Regions from separate parts of the Homo sapiens genome. Here regions 2, 3, 4, 5, 6 and 7 are each linked to region 1. The links are contacts of gene promoters, found by promoter capture Hi-C in blood cells and fetal thymus (Javierre and others, 2016). All regions are on one chromosome and are shown on one strand. Each heading gives the region's core, a stretch centred on a gene start or on the middle of the fragment in contact. The rest is flanking DNA. Distances are from core to core; before and after follow the strand shown.

Region 1 (2,937 bases), core at 214-2,713:
ATCCATTAAAGTTTATTGAATTAAGGAATAAATTGGGCAATCATTTAACTTCTTTGAGACTGTTCCTGTAACAGTAAAGTAAAATTATTACTACTTGCTCCACCTCCCACACCAGATTGCTCTCAGGAACAAATGATAGTATGTTTACGCGAGTGCTTTAAAAACTGTAAAAGCACTTTACTACTTTCGAGTGGAATTTGTATGTTGATTTAATGTCATTCCTAGAGCCGGTTTTTATTACTATCAATTCGTTAAATTTAGCATTCCTATTAAAACCCACTACTAATGTGCAGAATTGTTTTAGTTATTTATAAGGACGTTGTTTTAGACTATTCCTAATTTTGTCTGGTTGCAGGGCTGTGGTGCCATATAGTAGTGATTGTGACAAACCCGTACTTTCAGGAAAAACATTCACTTTTCTCCACTCCTGGTTTCTATCGCCAAGAAATGTCTGGCAGAAGCAGCACAAATCAATGATTCCAGCCTAGCACCTTAAGGTAAGAAGTGACCAAAGACCCCCAACACAGCTATCCCAAATTAAAGCCACTTTGACCAACGACAACGTCCAGTGAAGACACGGAGGAGGGTCGGGCTGGAAAAGAAGAGGACGAGGAACCCGAGGGGCCCTCCCCTCTCTCTCCCTGCCCCCCAACCCCGCGCCGGGAGCTCCAGCGGTGCCGGGGTCCAGCGCGCAGGACGGTTGGGGGGTCCCGGAGCGGGCGGCCAGGACCCGCGCAGCCAGTTGGTGTCAGCGAGCGCCGCGGCCGTTGGGGACTCCAGCTCCCAGCAGGCACCGCTTCTGCGGCCGACGCGCGTGGCGGCGGTGCCGGCTGGGACTCGTAGTGCGGTCCGGGTAGGAGAGAGCAGGGGGCCACGCTGGCTCCATCTACGCACGTTTCGGAAACCGGGCCCGGAGGGGACCACGCCCGCTCACCCGTGCCCGGCGTCCCCCGGAGCTGGGGCTAGAGGAGCCGGGCCGGCCGCAGCGGGAAGAGGCCACAGGCGGCCGCGCACGTGGGGGGTGGTTAGCGCGGAGGAACCCGGAAGCCCTTTGCACCGCCCACCGCCGCGGTGACGGGTTAACGCTCCTCCTGGTGGAGGCAGGGGCGGGCGGGGCGGAAGGCGGGGACGCCTCAGCCAACACCCCCGAGGACCGCCCGCGAGCCGTCCTCCCCACCCCCACGGACGCGACGCAGCGCGGGCTCCGCTTCCCCGGCCGCGGCGCCTGCGCAAAAGCCCCGCCCCTTCGCCCGAGCCCCACCCCCACACCGCAGCCTCCACCGCCGCCACCTCTCCCTTCCTCTCTGCTCTTTCCTCCTGTTTTCTCTTCCCTCCTCCCCCTGGCCTCCGCGTCTCCTCCTACTCCGGCGCTGACGCTCGCGTAGGGGCCCTGGCGTCAGACGCGCGGGGGCGGGGCGAGTGCGGCGCGGGGTATAAGTAGAGGGTGCAGGAGGCGGTGCTTCCCCTTCTCCCCGGCGGTTAGTGCTGAGAGTGCGGAGTGTGTGCTCCGGGCTCGGAACACACATTTATTATTAAAAAATCCAAAAAAAATCTAAAAAAATCTTTTAAAAAACCCCAAAAAAATTTACAAAAAATCCGCGTCTCCCCCGCCGGAGACTTTTATTTTTTTTCTTCCTCTTTTATAAAATAACCCGGTGAAGCAGCCGAGACCGACCCGCCCGCCCGCGGCCCCGCAGCAGCTCCAAGAAGGAACCAAGAGACCGAGGCCTTCCCGCTGCCCGGACCCGACACCGCCACCCTCGCTCCCCGCCGGCAGCCGGCAGCCAGCGGCAGTGGATCGACCCCGTTCTGCGGCCGTTGAGTAGTTTTCAATTCCGGTTGATTTTTGTCCCTCTGCGCTTGCTCCCCGCTCCCCTCCCCCCGGCTCCGGCCCCCAGCCCCGGCACTCGCTCTCCTCCTCTCACGGAAAGGTCGCGGCCTGTGGCCCTGCGGGCAGCCGTGCCGAGATGAACCCCAGTGCCCCCAGCTACCCCATGGCCTCGCTCTACGTGGGGGACCTCCACCCCGACGTGACCGAGGCGATGCTCTACGAGAAGTTCAGCCCGGCCGGGCCCATCCTCTCCATCCGGGTCTGCAGGGACATGATCACCCGCCGCTCCTTGGGCTACGCGTATGTGAACTTCCAGCAGCCGGCGGACGGTGAGCGCCGGGCTCCGCGGTCGGCCGGGCGGGCGGGCGGCCATGAGGCTCGGGCGGCGGCGGCGGGCGGGGTAGGCCGGCGGGCCCGGGGAGGGGGGCGGGAGGGCATGTCACCCCGCGACGGCCGGCGGGAAGGCGCCGGGGTCCCTGGAGCCGCGTTTCCCGAGCCGGCGGGGACCCGCGCTGCCGGCAGCCACACGCCCGGCTACTTCCTCCTTTGCGACCATTTTCTCGGCCTCAGACGCTCTCAAACTTTAGGGTGATGACGCGCCGGGAGGGTGGGTGAGATTCGGTTCCTCCGCGGCGCTCCCGCCAGTGGCCCCGGGATTCTGGGGCGTTGAACGCTGAGCTCCTTCCGTGGGTAAGAGGTGGAGGCGCTCCCACCACCCGGAGCTCCTGCCGGCGCCCCAGCCTGGGGAGGAAGTGCAGTTCTGTGCTCGAAAAATACCACGTGTTGAACCCTGTAACCTCGCAGGCCCGAGGCCTGCTTCTGCTCCTGCTCCTGGCCCAGTCGCCTGGGGGAGCCACCAGGCCTTAGGATAAAGTTCCTGTGGCGATGTGTGGTGTGGTGGTGGTCCTCAGGCTTGTGAGTCCACTTCCCAGAACTCATCAGTGACTGATGGATCTAGGAATGGAATTTACCGGAGACATGCATTTGGGGTTTCCCCTAGATCAAGCATTTCTCTAACATTAAAAGGGCAGAGTGGGAGGAGGGGATGTGGCAGCCGACCACTTTGAAGGCCAGTTTTCTCAGGCAACTTAGACCATTTTTAGTCA
Region 2 (2,937 bases), core at 206-2,705, 2.7 Mb before region 1:
TCCAGAGAAAGCGGCTAAACTGGGTAAGGGTGTGTGCCACAGGAGGCCTTAAAAAAGATGACTGAAACGCACTGAGATTTGCAAGGGTGAATACTAAACCACTTGTGGGAAACGTAGTGACTGACTAAAGTGGCAAGGAAGGTGGGACCAGAGATTCAAGGACTGGGAACGATGCCAAATCCAAGTGACAAATCTAATTTATATTTTAGAAACATTACTGCCTTGTGACAAACTGTAAACATCTTTTGAGCAGAGACTTATTAGCAATGCTCACACACATGTTGATAATATCTCCTACTCAACCAAAATAGTGAAATACTGTTTTCGCCTCATCTCATCTCGCTTACTCCTCATTCAAACTAATGACACAGCCCTTCTTTCTATGCCTTAGGTTCATTCCTGCCTGAAGACCTTTGCTCCTGTTATTCTCTTTATTTAGAACAATCTGCTTACGCATGGTTGGTCCCTTGTCATTTAGGTATCACAAAGTACAATTTATAAGTGGTTAGCATGTTAACGGGGGAACAGACCAGGAAGGATAAATTAATTTCATTTAACCATTCTTTCATCAAACTTCTTAAGGGATGGTAAGAGAAAACTGATGCTTTTAAATTCATCTTTGTCTCTTCCAACATCCACAACTAATGTGAAGTAGTAAAGCGGCAAGAAGAGCAGTAGGAAGGTTTTAAAAGCCTGTTTAACTCTCAGCCCTTCAACCCACGAGTTTGGCTCATTCAAGTCCACTTTTCAGTAATAGGAACCTGAAGACAATCCCAGAGCAGCAGCTGGAATTTTTCTCCACTATAGACAACTGTTTCCCACTCACCACTAGAGGAAATTCTTAGAAAAAGGACTTGAACAGACTTTACTTGCTATCCATCCAGTTCCGCAGCGACTCCGTAAGCACAAAGTTTGCCTTAGCGAAAGGTAACTGAGAAAGAACCAGACCAGAGTGCCAGCCTCCCCCGGCTTTACTCCGCGAAAGCCGAGGCTAGACCCAACGACTTGCGGAAACCGTCCCTTTCTCCCTACCAACTTATCTTACCTCTCTGTAAGTCCAACTTGGTTTCGCGGACATAATTGTCCGGATTCCGGCTCAGCATCTTCACCTTCATCTCGGTTGCTCTTCCGGCCGGACTCCACGAGGTGTCCGCTAGGAGTTCCGCCCACCGCCACCTCCTCCCACAGGCGACTTCCGCTTTTCCCAGACTACTTCCAGTCACGTGACTCGCGGAGCGGCGGCCTGCTGGCTCAACTGGATCCTGCGCCGCTCCGTAGTTTTGCCGGCAAACGTTAGCAAGGGGCGGTTCTTTAGCTGTGCAGTCGCTTCCGCGTCCGTGGGCTGGAGCATTTGTGGGCGAGGCAGGGCGGAGACTCGGGAGAGGCTGGGACCTCCCCTCCATCGCGCTTTCCGCCGGCGTGACGTAGTGTCTGTGCCCCGTTCTTGCCCCCTCAGTACTAGAGTCTCCGGCTTCGCTCACGCGCCTTGGGCATAAGAGTCCTCTCGTTGGTCCCGGAGGTGGGGTTGCGCTCACAAGGGGCGACCGTCGCCACGGTGGCGGCCACTGCATCGCGTCCCACCTCCGCGGCCCTGGGCGCCGTGGTGTCGACGGGCCCCGAGCCTATGACGGGCCAGGGCCAGTCGGCGTCCGGGTCGTCGGCGTGGAGCACGGTATTCCGCCACGTCCGGTATGAGAACCTGATAGCGGGCGTGAGCGGCGGCGTCTTATCCAACCTTGCGCTGCATCCGCTCGACCTCGTGAAGATCCGCTTCGCCGGTAAGAGCCCGCCCAGACACCGGGCTGCATCCTCTCACTGTCAGCCCGAACTGGATCTCCTCCGTCTTTTCCGTTCTAGGGGGAGGAGGAGCGTTGAAGGGAGCGTTGCTGTCCGCGTTGGCTAACCTGAACTAGATTTGAGGAAATGGTGCTTGGTGGAGGGGTCGGCCTGCGATCTTCCCCGCTCCTCAAGACTAAGAGAGGGGGCATGTATGTAGAGAAGTCTGAGAAAAAACATCCTCATTGGCAGAGAAGATGGGATTCAAAGCCTGATTTGTAAAATAAAGAAGGGATTGTCACATTTTAAGGTTTAGTCCTCACACGTGCAAATCATTCACTCTTGGAGGAACTTTGAAATCTTAGCATACCCACGTGGTTTGGCAGCTCGACTAGTATTGGGATAGGGCGTAATCTTCAGCGAATGGTTGGGAGTAGATTTAGAATAGAATTCTCTTGAATGTTTGTTTTTTGGCATTTGTAGAATGGTACAAGTTTCTGTGAAAAAATAGCTAGAATCGAAATACTATTTTAAGTGTATTAGATGAATTGAGTATGTTGAAATTAACAAAGCATTTTAGAAGTTAAACTCAACACTAAAGTCTGGAAAGAGTTTCAAAGATGATCTTTGATAACTGAAATTGCAGAAAATAGTTTCCAAATAAAGTTATTACAAGTTAAGTTCAGCCTTGAGAATTAAATCTACAGAAGTTGTTTATTTTAGCATTAGGCAATTCAGTTCACTTGATTTATATTCTCTTAATATTTGTAGACTGCTGTATGGGCTACAGAAGTATCTAATAAAGTTCTTGCCTTCAGGGAACTTAGAATTTAATTGTAGGCGTTAGACTTAGTCATATAAAAGGTAATTCTAGACAACATAAAATCAAGAAATACAAAAACAAAATATAAATACAGGTAAACCGTTAAGAAAATTCTACATTACTGATGGCCATGTGTATCTTTAAGGTTCAGTGGAAGATTGGGGCTTGGGGTTTCCCATAGAAGGGCTAATATTTTGACAGCTGGAGAGGAAGCAAGAACCCGTTCTATGAAGGAAAATCATCGAAAATTATGGAGTATTATCTCTAGAAAAAACACCACAAAGACATATAATGTCATGAAGTTTTATGATGCATGCACAAATAATTATGTTATTGAC
Region 3 (2,937 bases), core at 203-2,702, 2.6 Mb after region 1:
AGGTTTGGGCAAGGACACAGCCAAGCCATATCAGAAGTGGACCCTCAAAAGTATATCCTTAATTGATCCTCCAATAAGCAGTGACTAATCTTGTCTGAAGATGACTACTTATGTTTTTAAAAGTGCTCTTGAAATTGCATTTTTTTGCTTTACAGCTATATTGAGGTATAAGTTACTTATAAAAGTTACCCATTTTAATGGCTGGGTGTGGTGGCCCACGACTGTAATCCCAGCACTTTGGGAAGCGGAGGCAGGCGGATCACCTGAGGTCAGGAGTTCAAGACCAGCCTGGCCAACATGGCAAAACCCCATCTCTACTAAAAATGCAAAAATTAGCTGGGCGTGGTGGCTCACACCTGTAATCCCAGCTACTTGGGAGGCTGAGGCAGAATTGTTTGAACCCGGGAGGCGGAGGTTGCAGTGAGCCAAGATTGTGCCACTGCACTCCAGCCTGGGTGACAGAGTGAGACTCCATCTCAAAAAAACAAGTCACCCATTTTAATTAAGTGTAGTGTTCCATGAGTTTTAGTAAATGTATAGAATCATGCATCCACTATAATAGTCAAATTTTAGAATATTTCTATCACTCCCAAAAAATTCCCTTGTACCCATTTATGATCACCCCTGGCCCTAGACAACAATTAATAATCTGCTGCTGCTATTTTCTTTTCTAAGGTTTCATTTAAGTGAAATAAGACAATATATAGTCCTTTGTTGGATCTATCAGTGGGTGCATGTGTGTGTGTCTTGCTTTTTTGCTATAAATAATGCTATTCTGAACATTCACGTAAACTCTTTGGACATATGTTTTCATTTCTCTTGGATAGTTGCCTAGGAAAGAAATTGCTGAGTTGAGGCTCAAGCCTGTAATCCCAGCACTTTGGGAGGCCAAGGCAGGAGGATCACTTGAGTCCAGGAGTTTGAGACCAGCCTAGGCAACATAGCAAGACCTCATCTCTACAAAAAATAAAAATAAGTAAATAATAAAATAAAAAATTAGCCAGGCATGGTGGTGCACACCTTTAGTCTCAGCTACTTAGGAGGCTGAGATGGGAGGATCACTTGGGCCTGGGAGGTCAAGGCTTCAGTGAGCCAACATCCTACCACTGCACTTCAGCCTGGGTGACAGAGCAAGATCCTGTCTCTAAAAGAAGAGTTTGCTGGGTTGTATGTTAAATATATGTTTAAATTTTTAAAGAAACTGCCAAACTATTTTCTAAAGTGGCTGTACCATTTTGCATTACTACCGACAATGTATGAGGGTTGCTCCCCATCATTGCCAATGCTTACTTTATCAGTGATGTCTTAGTGTGTGGTTTTGCTTTGCATTTCTCTAATGACTACTAATGTTGAGCAAATTTCATGTACTCTAACTCTTTGTATATTTTCTTTTGTGAAGTATCATTTGCTCATATTTTATTGGGTTTGTCTTCACATTATTGACTTTTAAGAGTTCTTCTTATATTCTGGATATAGGTACTTTATTAGGTATATGTTTTGCAAATATTTTTCTCCCAATCTATGACTTGCCTTTTCTTCCCCCGACCCCTTTTTTTATTTTGGGTCTTTCTCTGTTACTCAGTGCCACTGAGGCTGGAGCGCAGTGGTATACTCATGGCTCACTTCAGCCTTCAACTCCTGGGCTCAAGCAATTCAATCACCCTAGCCTCCTGAGTAGCTGGGACTACGGGTGTGCGTCACCATACTTGGCTGTTTTTTATTGTTTTTTGTAGAGACTGAGTGGTTGCCCAGGCTGATCTCAAACTCCTGGTCCCAAGCGATCCTCCTGCTTCACCCTCCCAAAGCACTAGGATTACAGCACCCAGCCCCTTTTCATTTTCTTAAAGATATCTTTGATAAACAAAAGTTTTCAATTTTCATGAAGTCCAATGTATCTGTTTTTTTTTTTTTACAATTTATACTTCTCTGTCCTATCAAAAAAGTCTTCTAGCATTGAATTTTATGTTTTATACTTACATAAATACACTAGCTTTCTGTTTATTGCAGTCAAGCTGTATTAGTCGACAGGACCATTTACATTTCAGGACAGATAGGCATGGACCCTTCAAGTGGACAGCTTGTGTCAGGAGGGGTAGCAGAAGAAGCTAAACAAGTAAGTTATTTTCCACATTTAAGGTTCCCTTTTCTACTACCTTTTTAATGTTGAAGAGCATTAAGAATCCACTTGCCTGATTTGTTTTATAGAGATTAACAGATAAATGTTTTTTAAACTACTTACTGCTTGATTTAACATAGTTTTTGATCTAAGAGTTGGAAATTTGATGGATCATGAATCATCTAACAACCAAAAGAGAGATTCCACCTCCTTAACACTAAGGTGACCTTAAACCTGAATTATTGACGTCAGATGACATGTTGCCACTTCCACATGGATTGGGAAATTTTCTTCTCAGGGCCACTGACCTGCCCCTCTTCAAAAAAAAAAAAAAATTACCACCACAGAAGTAAAAAGTCAACATTTTTAAAAATAAGAATGGGGAATATAATTTTAATCCAATAAATATAATTAAACCATAATTTAGGCCAGGCACGATGTGGCTCACACCTGTAATCCTAGCACTTTGGGAGGCCGAGGCTGGCAGATCACTTGAGGTCAGGAGTTCAAGACTAGCCTAGACAACATGGTGAAACCCCATCTCTACTAAAAATACAAAAATTAGTTGGGGGAGGCCAGGCACAATGGCTCACACCTGTAATCCCAGCACTTTGGGAGGCCGAGGCGGGCAGATCACCTGAGGTCAGGAGTTCAAGACCAGCCTGGCCAACATGGTGAAACCCCGTCTCTACTGAAAATACAAAAATTAGCCAGGTGTGGTGGCATGTGCCTGTAGTCCCAGCTACTCGGGAGGCTAAGGCATGAGAATCGTTTGAACCCGGAAGGCGGAGGTTGCAGTGAGCTGAGATTGTGCCACTCCA
Region 4 (2,937 bases), core at 275-2,774, 2.3 Mb before region 1:
TCTAAAGTAGCATCACCCAGCATCCAAAACTATCCTACCTTCTAGAAGGAACAACGATTCCTCCAAACGAAAGGACACACACACAAAATTCGAGATTCAAAGTATACTTTGAGACTAGAGATCAGATACTAGAGATTCGATGGACCTGCCAGATCATGGAGGAAGGAACACAAACTTTGGAGTCCTGCAACAGTTAAAACTCTGACTCTACCCCCTTACTAGTTTCCTCATCTGTAAAGTGGGAACACGACACATCTTTTCACCCAGCTGTTGGAAAGTATGAATAAAATAATGTACCTAGACCTTCCCCTTTCCATGCGGCCGCCCTTCCTGCGGATGATTGTATTAGCTGCTGCCCCACCCCATCCTACCTCCCAAGACTCTCCCCCGTATCCCAGATGAGAAATATCCTTTGCTTACTTATACTTTATAAATGCCCCTACTACGCACTCATCGTATTCTCCCTCATTTTTATAACATATTTTCCTCTCCACCTTACTGAGAAATCCTGAAGAGCTAGAATCATATCTTCTTCTCTGTGAAACCCTGAGAGCCAGAATACACTAAATTCCTGGCAATAGCAGGGACTTAATAAATGCCTGTTGAATTAATAAATAAAATTCAAATTCAAATACAACAATGATGGAACCAATCAAAACGTCTGATTTAGAGATAAACGCAAAAAAAATCATGTTTTTTAAAAGTGTTTTTTAGTCTTCCAGAAAACCCTTATTTTACAGTAAAAATTAAAAATTGGTAGAGTTGCAGGTTCCTAAGTAAGCCTTTGTCTTTTATGTCAAGGGTGAATAAAGTCAAAAATATAAAAAAGAGGGTTTGATAAAGAACCTATCTGTACTTCAGGCAAAGCCATGGCCTCAGTTCTTCTACCCCTCGTCAAAGCAAACTAACTCTAAGTAAAGAGCCTAACAGGAAAGACAAGCTACTTAAGTACCTAAGGAGGAATGTAACAACTTCCTATGACAGTTAACATCATAAGTATTTTGCAAAATCTGTTTTTTCCATTTTTAAACTATGACCGCTCTCAACTTGTCACTTACACAAGTCAGGTAAAAAAATTTCTCCTTGAGGCCAGGCACAGTGGCTCACACCTGTAATCCCAGCACTTTGGGAGGCTGAGGCAGGCAGATCACCTGAGATCAAGAGTTCAAGACCTGCCTGCCCAACATGACAAAACCATGTCTTTACTAAAAATACAAAAAAATTAGCCAGGCATGGTGGCATGCGCCTGTAATCCCAGCTACTCGGGAGGCTGAGGCAAGAGAATCACTTGAACCCTGGAGGCAAAGGTTGCAGTGAGCCAAGATGGAGCCACTGCACCCTAGCCTGGGTGACAGACCAAGACTTCATCTCAAAAAAAAAAAAAAAAATTATCCTTGAAATTTAAGAACAATTTAAGTTTAGTTTCAAACAAAATTTATCTTTGCAGATGAATATGTATGTCTTTATTCATCGGAAAATGGAATCCATATTGCTAAACATATTTCCCTTTTTCTCTCAGCTGCAAGGAAACAAATTGTCAAAATTAGTGGCCATTTGTTATCAACTTGCCAAGAACCTGACACCACCTTCTCCACTGCTTGTTTTTACTCGTAATTATTTCCCTTTATTTTATCTTGAATACGAAGGAAGTCAGGCCTAAATGTAGCAAAATCATATGCTAAACAGAGGAGATGATGATCAAAAAGGCACCCTGATTAAATCGTAGTTTCTCAAGGCTCAGATCCAGGTCTATGTCCTTCTTCTCTTTCTGCGTGTGTGTGAATGTGTGTGTATAGCACCTTTCTTGATGATGATCTCTACAGTTGAGGCAATTCTAGTCTAGATGCTGGACACTTTCTGAAATGTATGTCTCCAGCCCAGGGCCCTCTGCAGCATCTAGAGTTGTACTCAACCAGTATCCACATCTGACTACAAGACATTTTCCACCTGAATGTCTCAAAAGCAGCTAAAACCCAACACTTCTAGTCAAACTTATCATCTCTTCCCCAATATGTAGTCCTACTCCACTGTTCCCTGAGTTAGTATAGGTGTACCCCTGCAGTATTAGACAATTAGAACTGTCAAATGTTCATAGCAGCCAACACTTACTGGGCACTTCCTATCTACTAGCACAAGTCAAAACACTTCACGTGTATTAACTCACTTAGTAGTTAGAGAAACCCCATTAGAGGGGTAGTAGTTACAAAGAAACCAGGGCACATAAAGCATCTTATATATTATACAAGGTATATTATGTAGTATGTGTCTCATTATATATCATATGACAGCATATATTATATGCTAAGGATGAATGTATTATATGCTCTCATAGAACCTTCTTTGTAGTATTTCTCTGGGGGTGGGGGAGCACTTTTTACTAGTATCTGTCTTTCAAATAAACTGCCCAGGACGGTAAGTGGAAATCATGATAGTTTTTGCTCACCACTTTATCCTCAGTACCTGGCACAGAGACCAGCATGGTAGAATCTCAGAAGATATTTGCTGAATATTCTTCAATAAAAATTACTGTGAGGATTAAATGAGATAACATCAAGCACCTGGATTATAGTTGGTTAGCTTCCCTCACTTCCCGTTTTTTCTATAAAATCAACTTTATTAAAATATAATTTATATAGAATTAAATGCACCCATTGTAAGAGTTTGATGAGTTTTTGACAAATGTATACACCTGTGTGAGCACTGTCAAAACCAAGATTAAGGACACTTCTATCATCCCCAAACCTTCCCTCACACTCAGTCCAGTCAATCCCTATCTCACTGCCAGCCCTGGGCAAATGTTGGTCTGCTTTCTGTTACTATAGATTAGTTTTGCCTGATCTAGAATTTCCTTGTAAATGGAAGCATGCATTAGATACTCTTTTGTACCTGGCTTTTGCTCAGCAAGTCTTTGATATCTGTCCGTGTTGTATGTATTAG
Region 5 (2,937 bases), core at 171-2,670, 2.1 Mb before region 1:
TAGATTGTAAGCAAGGTTTCAAATATTGTATTCATCTCTAGTTTTTCTTCCTCCACCAGAGAGGGTCTAGTGAATGGCTGTGTTTTCAAATGTTCTGAATAGAACAGAACTTTGAAGAAATAAAAGACAGAGCCAAGATATAGCCGAGCAAAATAAGGAAAAACAAAATCAGGAATGCGTCCACAGCTCCTGATTCTACCGAATACTCTCTCATACAGCCTCGCAAGATACCCTGCTTTTCCACACAGGAAGGTCGCTTTCTTCCTTTCACATTTGATGATTTATTAATCAACCACAGTGCTGCTCAAAGTACACAGAGGGTTCGGAAGAATGAAAGGGAAAAAAGTCAGGGTCTTAATATCAAAGATCTTAACTTCAGAGGGGTGTGTCAACACATATTCCATTTGTGCTATGTGTTGCGAAGCGTAGCAGCACGAGAGAACTCGGGGTCTCTGATCATGATCATTAGTGCTGAGGCATCTAAAAAAGATGAAAATAAATTAAAAGCTATGTAGGTAATCTTAGAACCCCTAGTAAAAAAAAGTCTGTTGTGGAGTAGAAAAATTAAAACGACCGCGAAAATGAGACCTAGGGGATTGAAGTAATGTGCGCTTGTAACATCAGTAATCCCCTCTCCAACGCGGGTCCTGCTTGGGACTGACTCCACCAATCCTTTTAAAAATGAAGACATAAAAGCCATATTCCTTTAAAAAATTTCCACTGCACCGTATTGCAACGTTCGAGCACTGAGGACATTTTCACGTGGTCACAACCCTTTTTAACACCCGGACACTGGGCCGGTCCTTTCTGGCCACGAGGAACTCGCTTCCCTAAAGGAGTACCGCATCACCGAGGGCGGGCGCCTCAGCCCGGGAGGACACTCCCCAGGGTAAACTACAGGCCTCACAAAGCGGAGGGAGCTGGACGCGAAGGCTCGGCAGCGGCGCCGACAGGCTTACCCCAGGCCCACTCTAGGCCGCACAGGGTTCGCGCCACCTCCGGCCCAGGACAGCTCTCAGACGCTGCCAGCGTGGAGCTCGACCCGGCTCACAATGCGCTGGGCCCCGCAGCGTGAGCGCAGGCGCCCGAGAGGCGGCGGGGGTCGGGCGGACGGCGCGCTCCAGCCGAGCCGCCTCCCTCTCTCGGCCCACACCCGCGCGGCCGCCCTTCGCCTGCCGGGGAGCTGCGGGTGGCTGGAGGGCGGGAAGCGACCGGCCAGTCTGCACCTGCATGACCCGGTCGCGCGCCGACCCCTCCCCTCTCTCTCCCGGGCTCAGTCCTCCTTCCTCTTCCGTCCCCCTCCCTTTTCTCCGGGCTGCAACCGGGTTCCGCCCCGCTCGCGCGGCTGCCCGGCCAGCTGTGATGTCACCAGGCCACGCCCCCTAATATAAATACTGGCGTCGCTGGCGCCGCCTTCTCACACTTTCAGGCTCTGATCGCGGCCGCAGTTTTTCCTTTTTTCTTCTGCCGTCGCCTTCTCTGCCTCTTCTCATCCTTTCTCGCTCTGCTGCTCTGCAGTGTGACGAGTCCGAATCCTCTTCCCACCCAGCCCGCGCCTTTCTTCTTTTGCCTGCGCTGTTCTATTTCTCCTTCGGCCGCCGCCGCCACTGCTGCACACAGCTGGTGTCGGTGCCGCGCTTTTACCCCCAAGTCGTTCCCGCAGCCTATGGCCCAGGCCGCCTTGGGTATTTCTGCTCAAGGTAACCACATCCCTCTTTAAAAATTCCGCCGAAAAAGAGAAGACGCTTTACCCGACTCTTTGGGCCGTTATCTCACGTGAGTACCGAGCCGAGGAGCGCGGGAGGGGCCAGGACGCGGGGCTGGCCTTGGGGGGCGGCTGGGGGGCTCCGGCTGGGCCCCGCCGCCCTTAAGACGTCCCCGCAGCGCCCCGCGGCCGGCCGCCTCGAACATGGCGGCGGCGGCTGTCTGTGCCCCCGGCGGCGGCGGCGGCGGCGGGGCTGGGCGGCGGGCCGCGCCTCAGGACCTTCGGGCGGCTGCTGGACGCTTGGCGGAGCCGGAGCCGCAGCAGTTGGGGCGAGGGGGCGTGTGCCAGTGGGGGAGCGCGCGGGGGTCTCGCCGCCGGGGGTCGCCGTCCCCTCCTGGCGGCGTGCGGCCCCCACCCCTCTCCCGTGGTGCATTGCTGTTTCCGGGGAGGGGGCCCGGCCGCAGCCCTGAGGGGCCGGGGTCCCGCAGCCCCTACTCCGCGGTGCGCCGCCGCCACCTTTGCCTCCCGAAGCCCGGCGGGCGGGCGGCGCTGTGGGCTGCAACGGCTGGGGTCCTGGTTATGAATGGAGCGGGGCGGGCCCCGCGCCGGCCTCTGGTGACAGCTGCGGAGGAAGTCGGATTCCTGGGGGGCGCGGGGAGCGCGGTCCCCCTCTGGTGGAGGAAAGTTGACGCCACTTGGGGCCTGGCGGCGGGGAAGCCCCGGTGTCAGGTAGCCAGCGAGAGGCTTTTGGCCCCTTCTGGAAGCCTCGAGGCTGCTGCTCCGCCCCTGCGGCGCTCCTGATTGGGTCAAGTCGCCTTCACTCACCCCAGTCACCTCCTGGAGCCTGAGGATTAGTCACCATGGCTTCGTTTTTCCGTCCGCGCCATGGTTCCTAGGCAGAAAGAGGGAGATTGGTAGACGGGTGGCTTATCAACTACTGTCTTGACTGCCAACAGTTGGTGGTGGTAACATGTTCTAACCCTTACACGGTATCCTGAATGTGTGTTTCGTAGACAAAGCTGCTGGTTCAGAAACCCGAAACAGTCGGGGACACAGTTTACCGCCTCATGTTTCAGCACATTTAACTGAATTTTGTGGTGGCATCTTGGTTATATTAGTTCTGTGTCCCGTCGTGTTTCTATCGTGAATTCCCAGACTGGGTGGGAATCTAAGGACTCAAAGGAGGGGGAATTGCCTTGTGCTCAGCGAAGGTTGATGTAGAGGTGCATCAA
Region 6 (2,937 bases), core at 180-2,679, 2.1 Mb before region 1:
CCGTTGGCCTGTTGGATGAAGGAACAAACCTTGGAAATGTTATTGATAACTATGTTTATGAACATACCCTGGTAAGTGCCATTTCTCAAATACAGTGTTTGTCATTTTCCAAGCTCTGAAACGAGTGCTTTTTAATTTCCAAGATGGTAATCTGATCAGAAGTACTTGGTTCATATGCTATCTGATTTAACTTGACCTTCCTCCCCCACACCCACTCCCCTTGAGTAGTGATCCATTTTTCTTTCCAATCCACATTATTTTAAAATCCTCCCTATGGCCCTTTACCTTCTATGCCTTTTAGCATCTGGCACCCACATATGTTCTGTTTATTCTGTTGATGTGATGCCAGCCAACCTTCTAATCAGTACATGGCTTCTTACTCATTTTTCTCAATTTTCTTTTTTTTTTTTTTTTTTGGAGACGAGTCTCACGCTGTCGCCCAGGCTGGAGTGCAGTGGCGTGATCTTGGCTCACGTGCAACCCTCGCCTCCTGGGCTCAAGCAGTTCTCTCTCAGCCTCCTGAATTAGCTAGAATTACAGGCGCACACCACCACACCCGGCTAATTTTTGTATTTTAGTAGAGACGAGGTTTCGCCATGCTGGTCTTGAACTCCTGACCTCAGGTGATCTACCCACCTCAGCCTCCTGAAGTGCTGGGATTACAGGCACGAGCCACCGCGCCCAGCCTCAATTCTTTTTTTTTGCTTGCTTGTTTGAGATGGATTCTTACACTGTTGCCCAGGCTGGAGTTCAGTGGCACGATCTCAGCTCACTGTGACCTCTGCCTCCTGCGTTCAAGCAATTGATTTAGGATCCTTATGCCTCAGCCTCCCGAGTAGCTGGGATTACAGGTCTGTGCCACCATGCCCAGCTAAGTGGTTTTTTTTTTGTTTTTTGTTTTTTGTTTTTTTTTTTGAGATGGAGTCTCCCTCTGTATCCCAGGCTGGAGGGCAATGGCAGTATCTCGGCTCACTGCAACCTCCGCCTCCCAGGTTCAAGCGATTCTCCTGCCTCAGCCTCCCAAGTAGCTGGGATTACAGGCGCCCGCCACCATGCCCAGCTAATTTTTTGTATTTTTAGTAGAGGTGGGGTTTCACCATGTTGGCCAGGCTGGTCTCGAACTCCTGACCTGAGGTGATCCGCCCACCTTGGCCTCCCAAAGGGCTGGGATTACAGGCGTGAGCCACTGCGCCTGGCCTAAGTTTTTGTATTTTTAGTAGATGGGGTTTTGCCATGTTGGCCAGGCTGGTATTGAACGCCTGACCAACATGTGATCTGCCCGCCTCAGCCTCCCAGAGTGTTGGATTAACAGGCGTGAGCCACTGTGCCTGGTCTCAGTTGTATTCTTCAGTGGATATTAATTTACTTTCAGATAATTTTGGTTGTGTATGTTCATTGAGAATTTGATAATTTATCCTGAGTACTTACTCTCTGCTGCTCTAGGAGTCAACTTCTACAGAATCATATACTCACTGCTACTTAAGGTGATTTTCTTTTTTTTTTTCTCTTTGAGACGAAGTTTCACTCTTGTTGCCCAGGCTGGAGCGCAGTGGTGCGATCTCAACTCACTACAACCTCGGCCTCCCTGGTTCAAGCGATTCTCCTGCCTTAGCCTCCCAAGTAGCTGGGATTACAGGCGCCCAGCACCAGGCCCAGCTGATTTTTGTATTTTTAGTAGAGACAGGGTTTCACCGTGTTGACCAGTCTGGTCTCAAACTCCTGACCTCAGGTGATCCACCCACCTTGGCCTCCCAAAGTGCTGGGATTACAGGCGCGAGCCACCGCGCCCAGCCTGGTCTTTTTTTTTTTTTTTTTTATATATATATATATTAGACTTAACTGATACAATCTTTCTTTATTGGAGGAAATTTCCTGTATTCAACCAAACTTGTTAGATAATTGTTTTCATGTTACCGGTGTTCAGTAATTGAATATCCAAAATTTTCTCCTTCTCTTGACCTTAAGTCTGCAGACGTGTTCATCTTCCCCTCATCCTAGCAAAAATCCCTTTGTCTTCCTCTGCCATTCAACTTGTTAAAACTTGACATATTGGTCATGAAACTTGTCATATTGGTCAACCAATTTCTGCCAAGCCATTCTTCAGTTGCCACTGGGAAGCTCCTAGTCAAATTCTGATGATCATTTTTATCACTTAACTTTATTCTTCTGACTTTTTGCAACACTTTTCGGGGGTCAGATATAATCTTTGAAATATTCCTTCCATCCCACATCTAAATTAACCCACGTTTAGTAGCATTCAATGAGGATTACTCCTCAACCCCATTCTTTTCTGGCTCTGGGGTGACACTTCTGTGTTCTCTAAGTCATTCAGTCCACCTTTTGTTTGTCCTCTCTTATTTAACCTTGGTCTTGCCTTCATAACATCCTGGTATTCATCTCCTCCATTCCCACTATCTATCCGTCTTTGCACATGTCATTATAGTGACCTCCTAACTTATTTCCCTTTTCATCGTCCTATTGTTTGCCCAAGCCTGCTTAATTTTGTTGAATATTCATTAAATACAAGGCTTCCCTGCTCCCTAAATTTGTTTTTCGTTGCCTACTGAGAATTTTCCAGACTCACATCATGCCTAAGAAAGGAAGCTGAATACCTTGTTGTTTCATCCCATTTCTCTTGTGGTTCCCGTAAATACCTTATTTTTTCCCAAATTAAATATAAACTTTGTGTCTCCGGAATACCATAGATATCATATCTTGGGAGGATGGATAACTTAATACAACTGTTAAAATTCTGCTGCACATAATGTGCGTTTTGCATTTATATCAGTTGGGCACTATATTCTAATGACATTTTCAAATACTGTGAATTAAAGAGTTGAAAACAGTAACATTGTCTTCATGGATTCTCAAACAGTATTTGGATGTTGTACGTCCTAAATAAGATTTTTTTGCCTGCTATCTAACACTGAGTAATAT
Region 7 (2,937 bases), core at 138-2,637, 2.1 Mb before region 1:
TTTAAAAGCAATTCCATTGTTAAGTGGTCTTTCAAACCCTGATTCTACCATGATACTGCTTATGTCTGTCAAAACCCTTTGCAGTTGATTTGTTGATGGCCTGAGAAGATTAGCACTGGATCAGTTATGGGCAATTAAAGAGTTAAGTATCTGCTATTGAGTGACAGATGAAGTGATTGCACATTGGCAGTAGAGCAAAGGGGTTGTGTAGATGTGCTAAAGATACTGCAATATCTTATTTAGATTATTTTTAACCCCAGAGTCCAGCTAACCTTTATTTGTAAATAATGGTGCCCAACTTCATCTGGTGCGTACCTGTGCCTACAACTTTGTCCCCATTCAGTTTTTAGCAGCAATATGCAGAGGAGGGGACACTTGGCTGAAGTTTAAGAATTTTAGTTCTGTGAGTTGATTGGTTTTCTCCCATCTATTTTCTATTTTATGTTTCTCAAATTGCTCTGCTTTCACCAGGTATGGTGGGGTGGAGGATTCTCAGCTCTATTCCAAGCCTTCTGTCTTCCACTTAGGCAATTTTAAACTTCTGAGCCAAGGTTGCAACAATATGTTTTATCGCTAAGAATGTTCTTTTTTCCCTTCATCACTTTGGTCCCCTTTCCTCCAGCTCTGGACAATCTAAATTGTCTTGTTTTTGTTTTGAGACAGGGTCTCACTCTTGGCTCACTGTAACCTCTGCCTCTCGGGTTCAAGTGATTCTCGTGCCTCAGCCTCCCGAGTAGCTGGGATTACAGATGCATCACCACCATGCCTGTCTGGTTTTTGTATTTTTATTAGAGAGGGTTTCACCATGTTGACCAGGCTGGTCTCAAACTCCTGACCTCAGGTGATCCACCTGCCTTGCCCTCCCAAAGTGCTGAGATTACAGACGTGAGCCACTGTGCCCTGCCTAAATTGTCTTGTTTTATAATCTGTAAATCTTAACGATTCTAAGCATTCCCTGTATCTGAGTGGGGACTAAAGAGCCAACAGGCAGCTCTGAGTGCATGAGTGCAGTTTGTCGACTGAAAAAATGATCTGTCCCAGCTGATTAGTTAGGGAACTTTGTATGACATATGATTGGTTAGGGAATTTTTATGCCATTATGTCAAGGTCTTAGCTGATTCTCAATCAATTTGTATCGTGCCTGAAGGGTGATAGACCGTCTACCAGCATTCTAGAACCCAGCAGGGTGAGGGTTGGGCCTCTGCTTTCAGTGTAACACACCCCTGCCATCCCAGAGACTGGGCTACCTTTTCTAGAGAATGAACAAATGAGAGAGGGCTGTTGCCCAACTGCGCAGTGTAGGGAAAAGGATCTGGGATTTGAGTGGTTAGACAGATTCATCCAATCCTTATTTTGCCCCCACCTCCAGGGGTTTGGACTGCTGCCAAGTCCTTCATTTTTTTTTTTTTTTGGTTTTTTTTTTTTTTTTAATTTCTGAGTTTTTTTTTGCCCCCACTGCTGGCCTTGGTATTCCATTTCCTGAAGCTGCTAAATTATAAACTAATCTGTCCATTTTCTAGCTTGCTTTTTTTTTTTAATCTCTCGATTTCTCCATCCTGGTGAGTTTCGCTCCTTTTAAATGCCGTTTTAGTTAGGGAAGGAACAAGGATAGGTATGCATTTCCAATCCACCAGTGATTATGTGCCCCTCAATATGTACCACATGCGTAAACCTAATTGTCAAAACAAGGGCCTTTTAGATTTTTGGAGACAATCCAAACTCTCCATCTGCCTCTCGGAACTAAATTTGGGTGGTATTTTAAAGGTACTCTGGTATCAGCACAAGATAATAAGAATAATACATGAAGTTTTATACCTTTTGTGGATTGATGGTACAGGTAACCAACAACCCTTTACCATAGTGATATACAGAAATAGAGTTTTAATTTCTGCATTTAAGTGGTGTGTGTGTGTGTGTGTGTGTGTGTGTGTGTGTGTGTGTGTGTGTGACGGAATCTCGCTCTGTCGCCCAGGCTGGAGTCCAGTGGCACGATCTGGGCTCACTGCAAGCTCCGTCTCCTGGGTTCACACCATTCTCCTGCTTCAGCCTCCTGAGTAGCTGGTACTACAGGTGCCCGCCACCACACCCGGCTAATTTTTTGTATTTTTAGTAGAGACGGGGTTTCACCGTGTTAGCCAGGATGGTCTCAATCTCCTGACCTCGTAATCCGCCCGTCTCGGCCTCCCAAAGTGCTGGAATTATAGGCATGAGCCACCTCGCCCAGCCTATCTTGTTTTCTAAACGTAATGAGTTGGGATGCTTTTAACTTGTAAGTTAGGTAATAGTCTTTGAAACATATATATTCTGTGCTTTTTAAATTTTTATTTAAACAGTTTCTGTCACCAGGCTAGAGGGCAGTGGCGCCATCTCTGCTCACTGCAACCTTTGCCTCCCGGGTTCAAGTAATTCTGTCTCAGTCTCCTGAATAGCCAGGATTAAAGGTGTGTGCCACCACACCCAGCTAATTTTTCTATTTTTGTTTTTTTAGTAGAGAAGGAGTTTTGCCCGGCCATGCACTCCAGCCTGGGTGACAGAGTGAGACTCCGTCTCAAAAAAAAAAAAAAAAAAAAGTTTTGCCATGTTTGGCCAGGCTGGTCTTGAGCTTGTGGCCTCAAATGATAACAAGCATAAGCCACTGTGCCCTGCCTACTCTGTGGTGTTTTTATGTCACAACAAACCTGTCTCAATGCACTCAAGGCATTTTCTCTATGTTTAGTGCCCAGTAATGCCTTTCCGATTTCATTACTTCGTGATTTAAACCTAACCTTCCATACTGTTAGATTATCAACAGAAATGAAGTAAGAGCATTTTCAAAGTTTGGTTTTCTCCTTTCCTAATTCTATGATTCTGCTGGAGGCAAGAATATAAACAACACTTTAAAAGCTTGCTAGAGGAGGGAAGAGAACTTTAGTGATCCCCAAAGAAAGACTGTATATA

The links. The method cuts DNA at HindIII sites, captures the fragments that hold promoters and counts their contacts. A CHiCAGO score of 5 or more calls a contact.
Region 2: a contact is called between the fragment with the promoter of SLC25A32 here and the fragment with the promoter of PABPC1 in region 1, in 2 of 17 cell types (neutrophils and monocytes). The highest score is 11.0, in neutrophils.
Region 3: a contact is called between a fragment that was not itself captured here and the fragment with the promoter of PABPC1 in region 1, in 1 of 17 cell types (neutrophils). The highest score is 6.7, in neutrophils.
Region 4: a fragment that was not itself captured here is called in contact with the fragment with the promoter of PABPC1 in region 1 in 1 of 17 cell types (monocytes); the score reaches 6.1 in monocytes.
Region 5: the fragment with the promoter of AZIN1 here is called in contact with the fragment with the promoter of PABPC1 in region 1 in 5 of 17 cell types (monocytes, total B cells, fetal thymus and 2 more); the score reaches 14.4 in monocytes.
Region 6: a fragment that was not itself captured here is called in contact with the fragment with the promoter of PABPC1 in region 1 in 3 of 17 cell types (fetal thymus, monocytes and neutrophils); the score reaches 7.7 in fetal thymus.
Region 7: a contact is called between a fragment that was not itself captured here and the fragment with the promoter of PABPC1 in region 1, in 2 of 17 cell types (monocytes and total B cells). The highest score is 7.4, in monocytes.

The regions. Positions count from the first base shown.
Region 1 is chr8:100,720,614-100,723,550 of GRCh38, reverse strand. It overlaps PABPC1 (poly(A) binding protein cytoplasmic 1), which reads left to right and starts at 1,463. Exons shown (of 15, transcript NM_002568.4): 1 at 1,463-2,160. The coding sequence starts at 1,968. RefSeq lists enhancers at 336-836, 837-1,337, 1,392-2,224 and silencers at 627-1,336, 1,417-1,496, 2,177-2,286. The HindIII fragment of the contact is 6,173 bases long and covers 1-2,937 here.
Region 2 is chr8:103,413,625-103,416,561 of GRCh38, reverse strand. It overlaps SLC25A32 (solute carrier family 25 member 32), which reads left to right and starts at 1,455. Exons shown (of 7, transcript NM_030780.5): 1 at 1,455-1,778. The coding sequence starts at 1,625. DCAF13 (DDB1 and CUL4 associated factor 13) reads right to left here and starts at 1,176. Exons shown (of 11, transcript NM_015420.7): 1 at 1,046-1,176. The coding sequence starts at 1,115. RefSeq lists enhancers at 1,095-1,434, 1,168-1,789. The HindIII fragment of the contact is 9,226 bases long and covers 1-2,937 here.
Region 3 is chr8:98,107,822-98,110,758 of GRCh38, reverse strand. It overlaps RIDA (reactive intermediate imine deaminase A), which reads left to right. Exons shown (of 6, transcript NM_005836.3): 2 at 2,008-2,113. Among named protein-coding and RNA genes, the nearest start is that of RIDA, 7.9 kb to the left of the region's middle. The HindIII fragment of the contact is 5,866 bases long and covers 1-2,937 here.
Region 4 is chr8:103,033,021-103,035,957 of GRCh38, reverse strand. All of the region lies in intron 1 of ATP6V1C1 (ATPase H+ transporting V1 subunit C1), which reads right to left. Among named protein-coding and RNA genes, the nearest start is that of ATP6V1C1, 13 kb to the right of the region's middle. The HindIII fragment of the contact is 3,124 bases long and covers 1-2,937 here.
Region 5 is chr8:102,862,646-102,865,582 of GRCh38, reverse strand. It overlaps AZIN1 (antizyme inhibitor 1), which reads left to right and starts at 1,420. Exons shown (of 12, transcript NM_148174.4): 1 at 1,420-1,776. It overlaps MAILR (macrophage interferon regulatory lncRNA), which reads right to left and starts at 1,312. Exons shown (of 3, transcript NR_126339.1): 1 at 960-1,312. RefSeq lists enhancers at 342-1,074, 2,543-2,937 and silencers at 954-1,303, 1,964-2,193. The HindIII fragment of the contact is 10,250 bases long and covers 1-2,937 here.
Region 6 is chr8:102,840,685-102,843,621 of GRCh38, reverse strand. It overlaps AZIN1 (antizyme inhibitor 1), which reads left to right. Exons shown (of 12, transcript NM_148174.4): 3 at 1-71. Among named protein-coding and RNA genes, the nearest start is that of AZIN1, 22 kb to the left of the region's middle. The HindIII fragment of the contact is 4,465 bases long and covers 1-2,937 here.
Region 7 is chr8:102,821,182-102,824,118 of GRCh38, reverse strand. No RefSeq gene overlaps it. Among named protein-coding and RNA genes, the nearest start is that of GASAL1, 16 kb to the right of the region's middle. The HindIII fragment of the contact is 2,997 bases long and covers 1-2,885 here.